Regions from separate parts of the Homo sapiens genome. Here all the other regions are linked to region 1. Evidence: promoter capture Hi-C in human tissues and cell types (Jung and others, 2019). All regions are on one chromosome and are shown on one strand. The core of a region is centred on a gene start or on the middle of the fragment in contact, and the rest is flanking DNA. Distances in the headings are between cores, read along the strand shown.

The links. Contacts are between HindIII fragments. The study calls those that stand out against the background at their distance.
Region 2: a contact is called between a fragment that was not itself captured here and the fragment with the promoter of LYZL2 in region 1, in 2 of the 25 tissues and cell types used here (lymphoblastoid cells and mesenchymal stem cells).
Region 3: a fragment that was not itself captured here is called in contact with the fragment with the promoter of LYZL2 in region 1 in 2 of the 25 tissues and cell types used here (H1 embryonic stem cells and spleen).

The regions. Positions count from the first base shown.
Region 1 is chr10:30,628,122-30,631,804 of GRCh38, forward strand. LYZL2 (lysozyme like 2) reads right to left here and starts at 1,632. Exons shown (of 5, transcript NM_183058.3): 1 at 1,472-1,632. The HindIII fragment of the contact is 10,435 bases long and covers 1-3,683 here.
Region 2 is chr10:30,417,532-30,421,214 of GRCh38, forward strand. No RefSeq gene overlaps it. Among named protein-coding and RNA genes, the nearest start is that of MAP3K8, 15 kb to the right of the region's middle. RefSeq lists enhancers at 1,068-1,187, 1,228-1,297. The HindIII fragment of the contact is 6,307 bases long and covers 1-3,683 here.
Region 3 is chr10:30,454,154-30,457,836 of GRCh38, forward strand. The region is part of intron 6 of MAP3K8 (mitogen-activated protein kinase kinase kinase 8); the gene reads left to right. Among named protein-coding and RNA genes, the nearest start is that of MAP3K8, 22 kb to the left of the region's middle. The HindIII fragment of the contact is 4,028 bases long and covers 1-3,584 here.

The sequences.
Region 1 (3,683 bases), core at 382-2,881:
TGCACTCCAGCCTGGGCGACAGAGCGAGACTCCGCCTCAAAAAAAAAAAGATTCATCGTTTGGGGGTTTATTGAAGGGTGAAGATTAAGCACCTAATCTTTCCTTTTCTTTTCTTGATGCATTTCAAAATGTGGGAGCATTGCTTCCAAAGTACTAGTGTTTTATCTTAGATTGCAAATGCATTGCTTTGCTAAGCTTCACAACCAGTGCTCCGGGCGGCCTCCTAAAAGTCTGGCACCTGACTGGGGAGCAAGAGGGATGGAGGACAAAGCCTCATGAAAGGAGGAAAGCACCTGGGGGAGCAGAGGGACAATAAAGAGGCCCCCATAGAATCGTCTGAAATGGGAGTAGGATCAAGAGCGCTGTCTCCTGCTGCCTACTGATTTTCCACAATCTCCTCCCCTCTTAAAATAATGTCTTCCCCAAACACAACAGCCTTGCTGGGATGGGGTGAAGTGAAATTTCTGACAACTACTCGGGATCCTGAACTTGATGTTCTTACATATGTTCATCCCGTGTCATTTTCTGCACTTGCCTGGAAACTTCTCTAGTCATTAGTTTCTCTCCCTGGGGCTGGATTCCTGCATTGAAAGGCTAGGCCCAAAACAGGGATAAGTAGTCATCAGCAAGGCCACCGCACCGAGTAACAAGCAGGGCTTTAAGGTGACTAAGCAATAAGATAAGGAACTGCATTGCATGAGGGGCATGTACATTACAAACGTGAATAGCAAGCGTGGGCAAACCAGGCCCGCTTTTGTATGTAAAGTTTTATTGAAACATAGCTACTCTCATCATTTGGTAATATATTGTTGGTGGCTGATTTCCTGCTGCAGTGGCAGAGTTGAGTAGCTGTGTTAGAGGCTGTATAGACCACAAAGCCTAACATATTATTATCTGGCCCTTTTCAGAGAGATCATGCCAGTCCGTGGTGTACAGCATTGTGCTAAGCTGTGAGGGACAGACAAACGAGGTTTAAGATGCAGAGCTTAGGCTGGGCATGGTGGCCCACACCTGTAATCTCAGCACTTTGTGAGGGTGAAAAGGGCAAATTGCTTGAAGCCAGGAGTTTGAGACCAGCCTGGGCAACAAAGGTAGACCTCTGTCACTACAAAATACACAAAAATTAGCCAGGCATAGTGGTGTGTGACTGTGGTCCCACCTGTTTGGGAGGCTGAGGTGGGAGGATCTTTTAAGGCTGGGAGGTTGAGGCTGTTGTGAGTTGTGATTGTGCCACTGCACTCCAGCCTGGGCAACAGAGTGACATCCTGTTTCAAAAAAAAAAAAAAAGATGCAGAGCTTACAAATAAGGTTGGTTTCCATCCTCTGCCTTAGAATGTTAACTGATCTCAAACAAGTCAAAACAAAACCCGTAGCAATGATAACCCCAAGCATCATGTTCTACATCCTTCAAGAACCTGCCATTGCTGGTTCTCAGGGACAGGTGGCTTCATAAGAGTAATTTAGGTCTTACTGAAAAGGCAGATTCCTGGTGCCTGCCGCAGAGGCTGACTTCTCAGTTGAGTCTGCGGAAGAAACACTGCTCCACTTAGTCGGTGACAGGCAGCTCAGGGGAGCGTCCTGCATCCCCTGAAGCCATGTCTGATTCTAACAAGGCTCGAGTAATCCTTTCCTAGCTCAAGAACCTTTCTTTAGAGTGTTAGAGAAAGAAAAATTCTTAGTCCTTTGTTTCTCACCACCTAGAGATGCTAGAATTCTACTTCTTGGCACTAAAAGCTATATCATCCTGCACGCTTGTGTTCTGAAGCAGGTGCTAACTCTCTTCTGGGCCTTAATACCTCTCGTTTTTTCTCTTTTCCTCTCAACAACTGTCCTCACTACACAACTTGGCCAGGGCCTCCCGTCCAAGTGAGAGCTCTTCTCTAAGGCAACAGTCTGCAAACTTTATCACAAATTCCATTAATAAAGTTAAGCATGTATCCTCTTTAGATGTATATTAAATTATAAATCACACTTCTGTACCTCTGTACTAATATGCTACATAAATTATCAACATACACAAAACTAAAATCTGAAAATGAATGAGAGGTGAAATTAACATTAAAAATTAATTAACAGCACATTTCTTTGCTATAGTTATATTGTTAATTAATAAAATATTGTCAAAGGAGGGCCACAAAAGAAATAAAAAATTTTTATGTATAATTAACATGATTTCATTGTTTTTTAAAAATTTGGCTTAACACTTTGTGACTCAATAAAGAGCTAGTTTGAAGGTCCATTTATTTCTGTGTTCAGATTTAATGACACATTTGAAATGAATTCTCATTGGAATATGTAGATCTCAGTATAAGTTTGTTGTTAGTTGTACCTAACTAATTATTGTATTTTATTAAATTCCATCTGCAAATAATGCAAAGATCTTGTTGAAATCTAGTTTTAAGTTTATATAGTATTACATTGTGTAGATATAACATATTTAGCCAATTCCATATTGACTCACACTTAAGGTATTTTTTTCTTCTATGATAAACATATTACAATTAGTAATCTTGTACATTTGTCATTTGTACATTTGCAAGAATATCTGTAGGATACATTCCTGGAAATTGAATTGCTGGGTTAAGGACTGTAATTTTGTAATTTTGCTAGATATTGCCAAATTGCCTTCCACGTGGGCTTGTATGACGAAGATGGCTAGCATACCCTATTACCAAAGGTTAAGATATTTGCTAATATTAGAGATGAAACATAATTTGTCAGCAAAGTTTCAATTTCAGCTTCCCTTATTTCAAGCTGTCTGAGCATCTTTTCTTATCTTCAGAAGCCATTTGTGGACTTTTTTCTCTCTCTCTCTCTCTTTTTTTTTTTTTTTAATTGAGACAGAGTCTCCCTCTGTTGTCCAGGCTGGAGCTCAGTAGTGTGATCTCGGCTCATTGCAACCTCCACCTCGCAGGTTGAAGCGATTCTCGTGCCTCAGCCTCCCGAGTAGCTGGTATTACAGGCATGTGCCCCCACGCCCAGATAATTTTTGTATTTTTAGTAGAGATGGTGTTTCACCATGTCTGCCAGACTGGTCTCAAACTCCTGATCTCAAGCAATCTGCTCGCCTCAACCTCCCAAAGTGCTGAAATTATAGGCATGATCCACGGCATCTGGCCTGTGTGCTTTTTCTTGTGAATTGTCTATAATACGAGAAAATACATAGGTTTTTCTTCAAACATCTTTTTCAAAGTGCTTTGAAATAGGAATTTTATAGTCAATGAGAAAATAGAGACAGATTGTCTTTTTTTTCAAAAATGCTTGTTTAGCAAGTTTTCGGATACATAGTAAATATACAAAAGCCATTTCTATTCTTATATACTAGGAATCAAAATATTTTAGATTCTTCTAAAATAAAAAATATCATTTACAACAGCACACACAAGAATATGACGTACTTAAATGTAAACCTAACAAAATCTGTGCAGGATATATATTCTGACAACTGTAAGACAGATGAAAAACTAAAGAAGACCTAAGTGGAAAAGAAATACCATGTTCCTGAATTTAAAAATTCTATGTTGTTAAGATTTAATCTATAGATTTAATGGAATTCCAATTAAAATCCCAGAAAATTGTTTTGAAAATATCAATAAGATGATCTTAAAACTTATACGGAAGGGCAAATGGACTACAATAAACAAAACTATTCAGAAAAAGAACAAAATTGAAGGACTCATTCT
Region 2 (3,683 bases), core at 869-3,368, 210 kb before region 1:
TGGTTGCAAGGCAGAGGAAACAGCCTCTAGTTGGATGGGGACCAGCATCTGGGAAATACTCTGACTCCACTCCTGGGGATAGAACCCATGTTTTCTTCCTGGGTCAAGCCACTTCTCGTTGGTCTATGGCAATCCAGCTGGGTTAGGAAAAGAAAAGCCCGCCTGGGCAGCCACATAGCTAAAGGCTCAGGACATTAAACACTAGGCTTGCTCTTCTTTGTCCCAGTGTATTAAAAAACAAACACTCCATGTAGTTCCCTGAGACACAAAAACAGGCCTTTAAACTGACCTTTCTAAAGAAACTGTTAGCTGGGCATGGTGGCTCACACCTGTAATCCCAGCACTTTGGGAGGCCGAGGCAGGCAGATCACTAGAGGTCAGAAGTCCAAGACAAACTTGTCCAACATGGTGAAACCCCATCTCTACTAAAAGAAAAAAAATTAGTGGGGCATGGTGGCAGGCGCTTGTAATCCCAGCTACTCAGGAGGCTGAGGTAGGAGAATCGCTTGAATCCAGGAGGTGCAGGTTGCAGTGAGCCAAGATCACGCCACTGCACTCTAACCTGGGTGACAGAGCTAAACTCTGTCTCAAAAATAAAAAAGAAAGAAGGAAGGAAGGGAGGGAGGGAGGGAAAGAAAGAGGGAAGAAAGAGAAAGGAAGGAAGGAAAAAAGGAAGGAAAGAAAGAAAGAAAGAAGGAAAGAAAGAAAGAGAAAGAAAGAAAGAAAGAAAGAAAGAAAGAAAGAAAGAAAGAAAGAAAGAAAGAAAGAAAGAAAGAAAGAGAGAAAGTAAAAAAGAAAGAAAGAAACTGTTGCCAGGGGAGGTGACTCAGGCCTGTAATCCCGGCACTTTGGGAGGCCAAGGTGGGCAGATCACCTGAGGTCAGCAGTTTGAAATCAGCCTGACCAAAATGGTGAAACCCCGTCTCTACTAAAAGTACAAGAATTAGCCAGGCTGTGGTGGCGCACACTGTAATTCCAGCGACTCAGGAGGCTGAGGCGGGAGAATCGCTTGAACCCTGGAGGTGGAGGTTGCAGTGACCCGGGATTGTGCCACTATACTCCAGCCTGGATGACAGAGGGAGACCCTGTCTCAAAAGAAAAGAAAAGAAAGAAAAAAAGAACCTGTTAAGATCTCCTAAAGCCTCTGCAAACTATGTCAAACATTCAATAGTTCCTTAGTTGGGTATTTTCTTAAAATTTTCCTGTTTCTTATCAATGTTAGATATTTTTCCAAGAACTCAAGGGAGATTTGCAGTGGGATAATCCAGTTCACATGGTAAAAATGAAACCACTACCACATAGCTTGTGATGCAATAAAGTAAGTGAAATAAAAGAGGCACAAAAGGAAACCGGAAGTTTCCATATCTTAAAAAGAAAAGCCACAGTGATAAGGCTTCAACCTGCTGAGTCGGTTACCCAGGTTTCTCCAGGCACTGGAGAAACCTCCATGCGGGGTTTCTGTTACTAACAGAGCCCTATTGAGTTGAAAGAAAAACCCATCCACCACCAAGCGCTACTCTATTTCTCTGGCATCAAGAAGGTTAACTTTTTTCACTCTATTTATGCCTTTTTTTTTTTCCTATAATCAAGGAAAGTAAAGCTCAAAGGGATTAAATAGCTTTTCTAAATCAACAGCTAGTATCAGGCCAAAAAAGAAAAAAATTGGCATCTGGATGTTATATAACACTAAAGCCCATATTTTTTTCTTTTACCTCAGACTTTCCACCAGGGACTAAAACAGGTTCAAATACTGTGTAATTGATTGTATTTGATTATGGTGTATTTATGGGGACTATGTAAAGCAACATTTCTTTATAATATTATTTTCTTTTCTTTTTTTTTTTGAGACCGAGTCTTGCTCTGTTGCCCAGGCTAGAATGCAGTGGCAAGATCTGTCCATATCAATTAATAACAAAATTGAAACACGGACTTAAGTGACAAATGTTTATTCATCCACAGTGACTTTTGACTTATACCAGGCTGCTATAATCTAGAACATTATGTTTATGTGAGCGTCACAGTCTCAGAAATATTCTCCCTGACCTAAGTAAGTTCTAGTCCCAAAGTATCTCTCCCCATCCCATTCACTTCCTTCACCTTGTTCATTTCCTCTTGAAACGTGTCATAAATTGTGCACTTATGTGTATTTATTTATTTGTTCAGTGTCTCTCTCTCCCTGACAAAACTCTAGACTCCATGAAGGCCATTGAGTTTTGTGCACTGCTGCTCCCCAGCACCTAAAACTGTGACTGGCATATACTACACACTCAAATATTTGTTGCATGAACGGATAAAGGAGCAGAATTGTCTTTTAAACGATATAGTGGTTATTCTTTTCTTCTCACTTGCAAAGCTGATTTTAGAAGCAGGTGCCAGAGATAAAGGTTACAAAATCTTAATATCTGTGCTTTACAAAATCAGAACGATGTTCACTAAAATGTTGACAGCAATTATTGTTGATCTGAGTGTTGGGATTGGTGGGTAAATTTCATTATCCCTATTTTCTAGCAAGTCTTTAGTAAACAGGAATTGTTTTGAAATCAGATTTAAGCTTTTAAAAAGTATAAACTCTTGGTATGCTCTCTAATTTGCTGTTCTTCTGAGAGCAGTTAGAGCTATAATCTGTGCATCAGGATGGGGAGCATCTGAAGTTTCCCCAAATGTAACTAACTAGAGCCAAGAAGGTACATCTCAATATTCCAGTATCTCCTTCTGCCAGGAGGTCTCTGCACCCAGACTATGCTCTGTGAATCTTGGATCTGAGGGATAAAACTGGGGGACCCAACTGGGCAGCAGTTGACTTAGCTAGAACCACTCATGGTGGTGGGTTTCAGGCAAACAAGGATGTGGGAGGCAACTTGGTGTCAACTGAGGGCTGCATGCATAAGTGAGGGGGACTGGCCAGTGGCTTCATGGTTGACAGCAGCCCATGAGTAATGTGGGCTGTACCTCCAATACCTATAGCAATCCCTGGGGCCCACTGATGTGCGTAAGTGTCTCTTGAATGAGTGGGTGACTTAGCACCTGCGAAGTCCAAGAATATAGTAACCTAATGGCTATATAATTTTGAAGGCAATATATTTGAGTTAGAATTTTGGCCATGTGTATTATCTGAGTGATCTTGGACAAGTTACTAATCTCCAAATTTCAGATCCCTCAAATACAAAACAAGCCTTGTAACAGCAACTTTCAGGGTCACTGCATCAGGGATATTAACTGAGTAAATGAAAGTATGTTTTTCAAAAACATTTTAGTACAGTATAAATACATGCAATACATGATTTCACTTTTCTCCTATGGTTAGAGCTGTAGGTTAAGAGGTTTTGATATTATGAAAAGTAAAATGAAAACAAGATAGCTTTTCTTTTTTCCATTATATAATAAAGAAACCAAAGCTCTACGAGTTTAAGTGACTTGCCCAAGGTCACATGGACAGAAAATGGGGAAGCAGAGATTTGAATTTAAAAAGTGTTCTTTTCACTTGGTTAGTATTTCCAAGGAACAGTCCCTTCTTGCTTTCTGAAGTTCAGATTTCAGGGGCCCAAGCCTACCTCTACTGAATGAGAATTTCCTAGGTGATACTTATAAGGCAAATGAGAATCACTGGTCCTAAAACCAAGCCATCATCAGCATGGAGTTAAGATTCTGAGTGAATGTGCCCCCCTGTGACAGGCTGGCCATGC
Region 3 (3,683 bases), core at 321-2,820, 170 kb before region 1:
CTTCTCTTTGCTGGAAGTGCCCATAGGAAATAGAGAGAGGGTCTTTGGCTGCACCTCTATGTCAGGATTACCAGGTCAGTCTTGGTGTTCAATCAGATGACAACCCTTAGTCTAGTCTAGCTAGTATACGTGTTGCACTGAACTGGATTGCAGCCACAAAAAAATTGTCTTCCTTTCAAACCAGATTCTTCCAGCCTGGGCAACATAGTGAGACCCCATCGCTACAAAAAGTAAACAAACAAACAAACAAAAACTTTACTTTTTGTAAAAATGGCATGGTGGTGCATGTCTGTAGTCCCAGCTACTCAAGAGACTGAGGTGGGAGGATTGCTTGAGCCCAGGATGAGGCTGCAGTGAGCTGTGATTATGCCACTGCACCCATAGCCTGGAAAATAGAACAAGACCTTGTCCTAAAAAAAAAAAAAACGCCAAGATTCTGTAAGTCCTTTCTCAACTCTCTCAAAGCCAGCACTCTCCCGGGCAGCAGAAGAAATCCTTGCTTTTGTGAATATTACTGAAGTTATTATTGAAAATGCTCGAGCGAGGATTCTTGACGGTTGTCTTTGAGCAGAACAATATTCAGAAGGGAAGCTGTACTTTTTTTTTTTTTTTAAGAATGCTTAGTCCCCAGATCTTAAGAATACTTTACCAAAGTGTGAGGTCTAATAAGACTTAATGCTTACGACATGTTTTCTTTGGAAAATGTTTCAGCATATTTGGCATTAGTCAGGAGTTCAGATATGTAATATTCCACCACCCTTTTTCCTGGAACCAGTTTGAAAAACAAACTATTTATGGTATTAAAGATGGAAAATACTTTTCTCTTCCTGGCAATGTGGTGAAGTTGAACATTTTGCAACATTGGAGAAAGAAGTGTTCTTTCTGGGGCTGTCTAGCGGAATGCATGGATATGAGATAATAACATATTTTACTCCTGAGTAGTATTTGGATCAGGTTTTTTTTGGCAAATGCAAATTGCTTTTTGTGAAGTGCAAAACTGTGCCTTGGTGTTTATAAATATAAACTCTCTTCTAATCAGCCTGCATTTAATATCTGCCTAGTACACACGAGTTGAAGTTTGATAATGAACAAAGTTGTGAAGTGACCAGTGAAACCTTTCAACAAGCTTGCTTTTACCCTTCCTACTTAAAGAGCCAGGAGATCTAATTAGTCAACTGTGCAGACTGGCTGATGTTAGAATTTGATCATGTGGCTACTGCACAGTCATAGACAATTTCTGATTTCTGCAGTATAGCTCCCAAATGCAAACCCTGGTTACCCCTGTTTGATTGCTCTCTCTAAGCATTGGTATTCAGAGCATTCTATTGTAACCATGTAATACACATCCAGGGTTAATCCAGCATATACAGAATAGACTGTTTTTGAGTTGCAAGGTACAGAGAGAGAATACATAGTGAATGCGAATAACAAATCAGAATTACTTTTAGAACTTGGTCCTTTTTGAAAAATCCTTCTAAGTCTGCTTGGTTTTACCTTTGTAAGTTAACATATAGTCATCACATGCACATATACGCACACACACGGTCTCTTTCCCTTTCTAATAAACATATTGAAAGGTGAAGGGTTCGATCGCTGACATCAAGGTTTTCTCTTGCTCCAGTGCCCTGCCCCGAGGGTGCAGAACTCTCAGAGAGCCCTGTGTTGGTCCCACCAGGGCTGTTTCATGCCTTCTAATCAGCCAGAGTGCTCGAACATTATGCCCTGCTGCTCCCTGATCTAACTGGTAGTTGGTAGAGCTTGAGGAACAAGAGCTCCGAGCCAGGAAGCTCTGGGGTTTCTACCTGAGTGGCAGCACCCAGGCCACCAGGCTTACAGATGTTCCATCCCCCCAGGCTGCCTAGGCGTGCAGTCACATAGAACCTGCAGAGCCACCTCTGCACAACCCCTGTGGGCTACACCAGCAGTGGGCACTCCGCCCAATCCTTGCTTTATTGGCAGGGAGGAGGGGGTACAGGAGAGAAGATAGGCATCCTCTATGGACAGTTAATAATACCCATTGCATTTCTTTTTCTTTTTTATTTGATTGTGGTAAGAACACTTAGCATGAACTCTACCCTCTCAACACATTTTTAAGTATACAATACACTATTGTTGACTATAGGTACAATGTTGTGCATTAATTTTTTAAGTTTGTGATATATTTAGTAGCAAAGTCCTTCTGGAAAGTCCTCTGGCTCTGCTGCAGGGAAAGCTTGAGAACGGGAGCTCAGTTTCACCTGTTTGCTGAGAGCAAAAGGAAGCTGGCCCGGAAGTGGCTTGCAGGAAGGAGTTGAGCAGGGTTAGGGTGGGGAGACTGGGCAGTTTCTCTGGTTTTTGTAAGCTAGTTCTCTAATTACTTACCCTGAAATGTGTTCCGGAAACACTGACCTCCATTCTCTTATTCACATGGCAGACAGTGTACAAGCTGTTTCAAGCGAAATACTGATAATCAGGATATTAACTACTATATGTCTGCACCAGCCATGAATACAAATCACTGGTCACCAGTGTTTGCTCTGTTCCTTTTTAAAAAAATGTTTAATTAAATTAGGTAACTAATTAATTTGTAAAGATGGGGGGTCTCCATCTTGTCCAGACTAGTCTCAAACTCCTGGGCTCAAGCAATCTTCCTGCCTCGGCCTTCCAAAGTGCTGAGATTCAGTGGCTCACGCCTGTAATCCCCACACTTTGGGAGGCCGAGGCAGGTGGATCACGAGGTCAGGAGTTCGAGACCAGCCTGGCCAACATGGTGAAACCCCATCTCTACTAAAAATACAAAAATTAGCCAGGCGTGGTAGCACATGCCTGTAATCCCAGCTAGTTGGGAGGCCGAAGCAGGAGAATAGCTTGAACCCGGGAGGCAGAGGTTGCAGTGAACCGAGATCGCACCATTGCATTCCAGCCTGGGTGACAGAGGGAGACCCCATCTCGAAAAAAAAAAAAAGCCAAAGTGCTGAGATTATAGACATGAGCCACCATGCCCCACCTCTCTTTGTTTCTTTCTTAAGTTTAGAAATAAATGCTCGTTAGAGAAACTATTTATAAAACCAGCCCTGTTTATTCAGCATGGACTCATGAGACCAAATATAACTTATACAATGTTAATATGGCTGCATTTAATATTTAGTCACTGGGCTACATAGTAGGTAAAAATAACAGATAGTTTGTAAAAATGACTCTTTAGAATCACTTCTACAATATTACACTTTATTTTTTAAGTTTTTCCCTTTCAAGAAATTTGTGTTAATACCCTATAGACTTCTATCACCTTTTATCATTGCAGATATTTAGAAGGTTAGCAGTGTAATGACAAACAGATAAAGAAGTCTGTTTGTAGTTCATTTAAATATAAAAGGAATTGGCGTTTTAGTTGAAAACTTAGCTACACCTGATCAGTGTACTGCAGAACTTTGATGAGTGGGAGTCCCTGATAGATTCCTGGTTCTAGGCTCTTTGCCACCAGATCAACCAGAAAAAGGTGGTGTTTTGTTTTGTTTTGTTTTGTTTTTTGAGACTGAGTCTCGCTCTGTCTCCCAGGCTGGAGTGCAGTGGTGCGATCTCGGCTCACAGCAGCCTCCGCCTTCCGAGCTCAAGCGATTCTCCTTGCCTCAGCCTCCCAAGTAGATGGGATTACAGGTGCCCATCACCATGCCCAGCTGATTTTTGTATTTTTAGTAGAGACC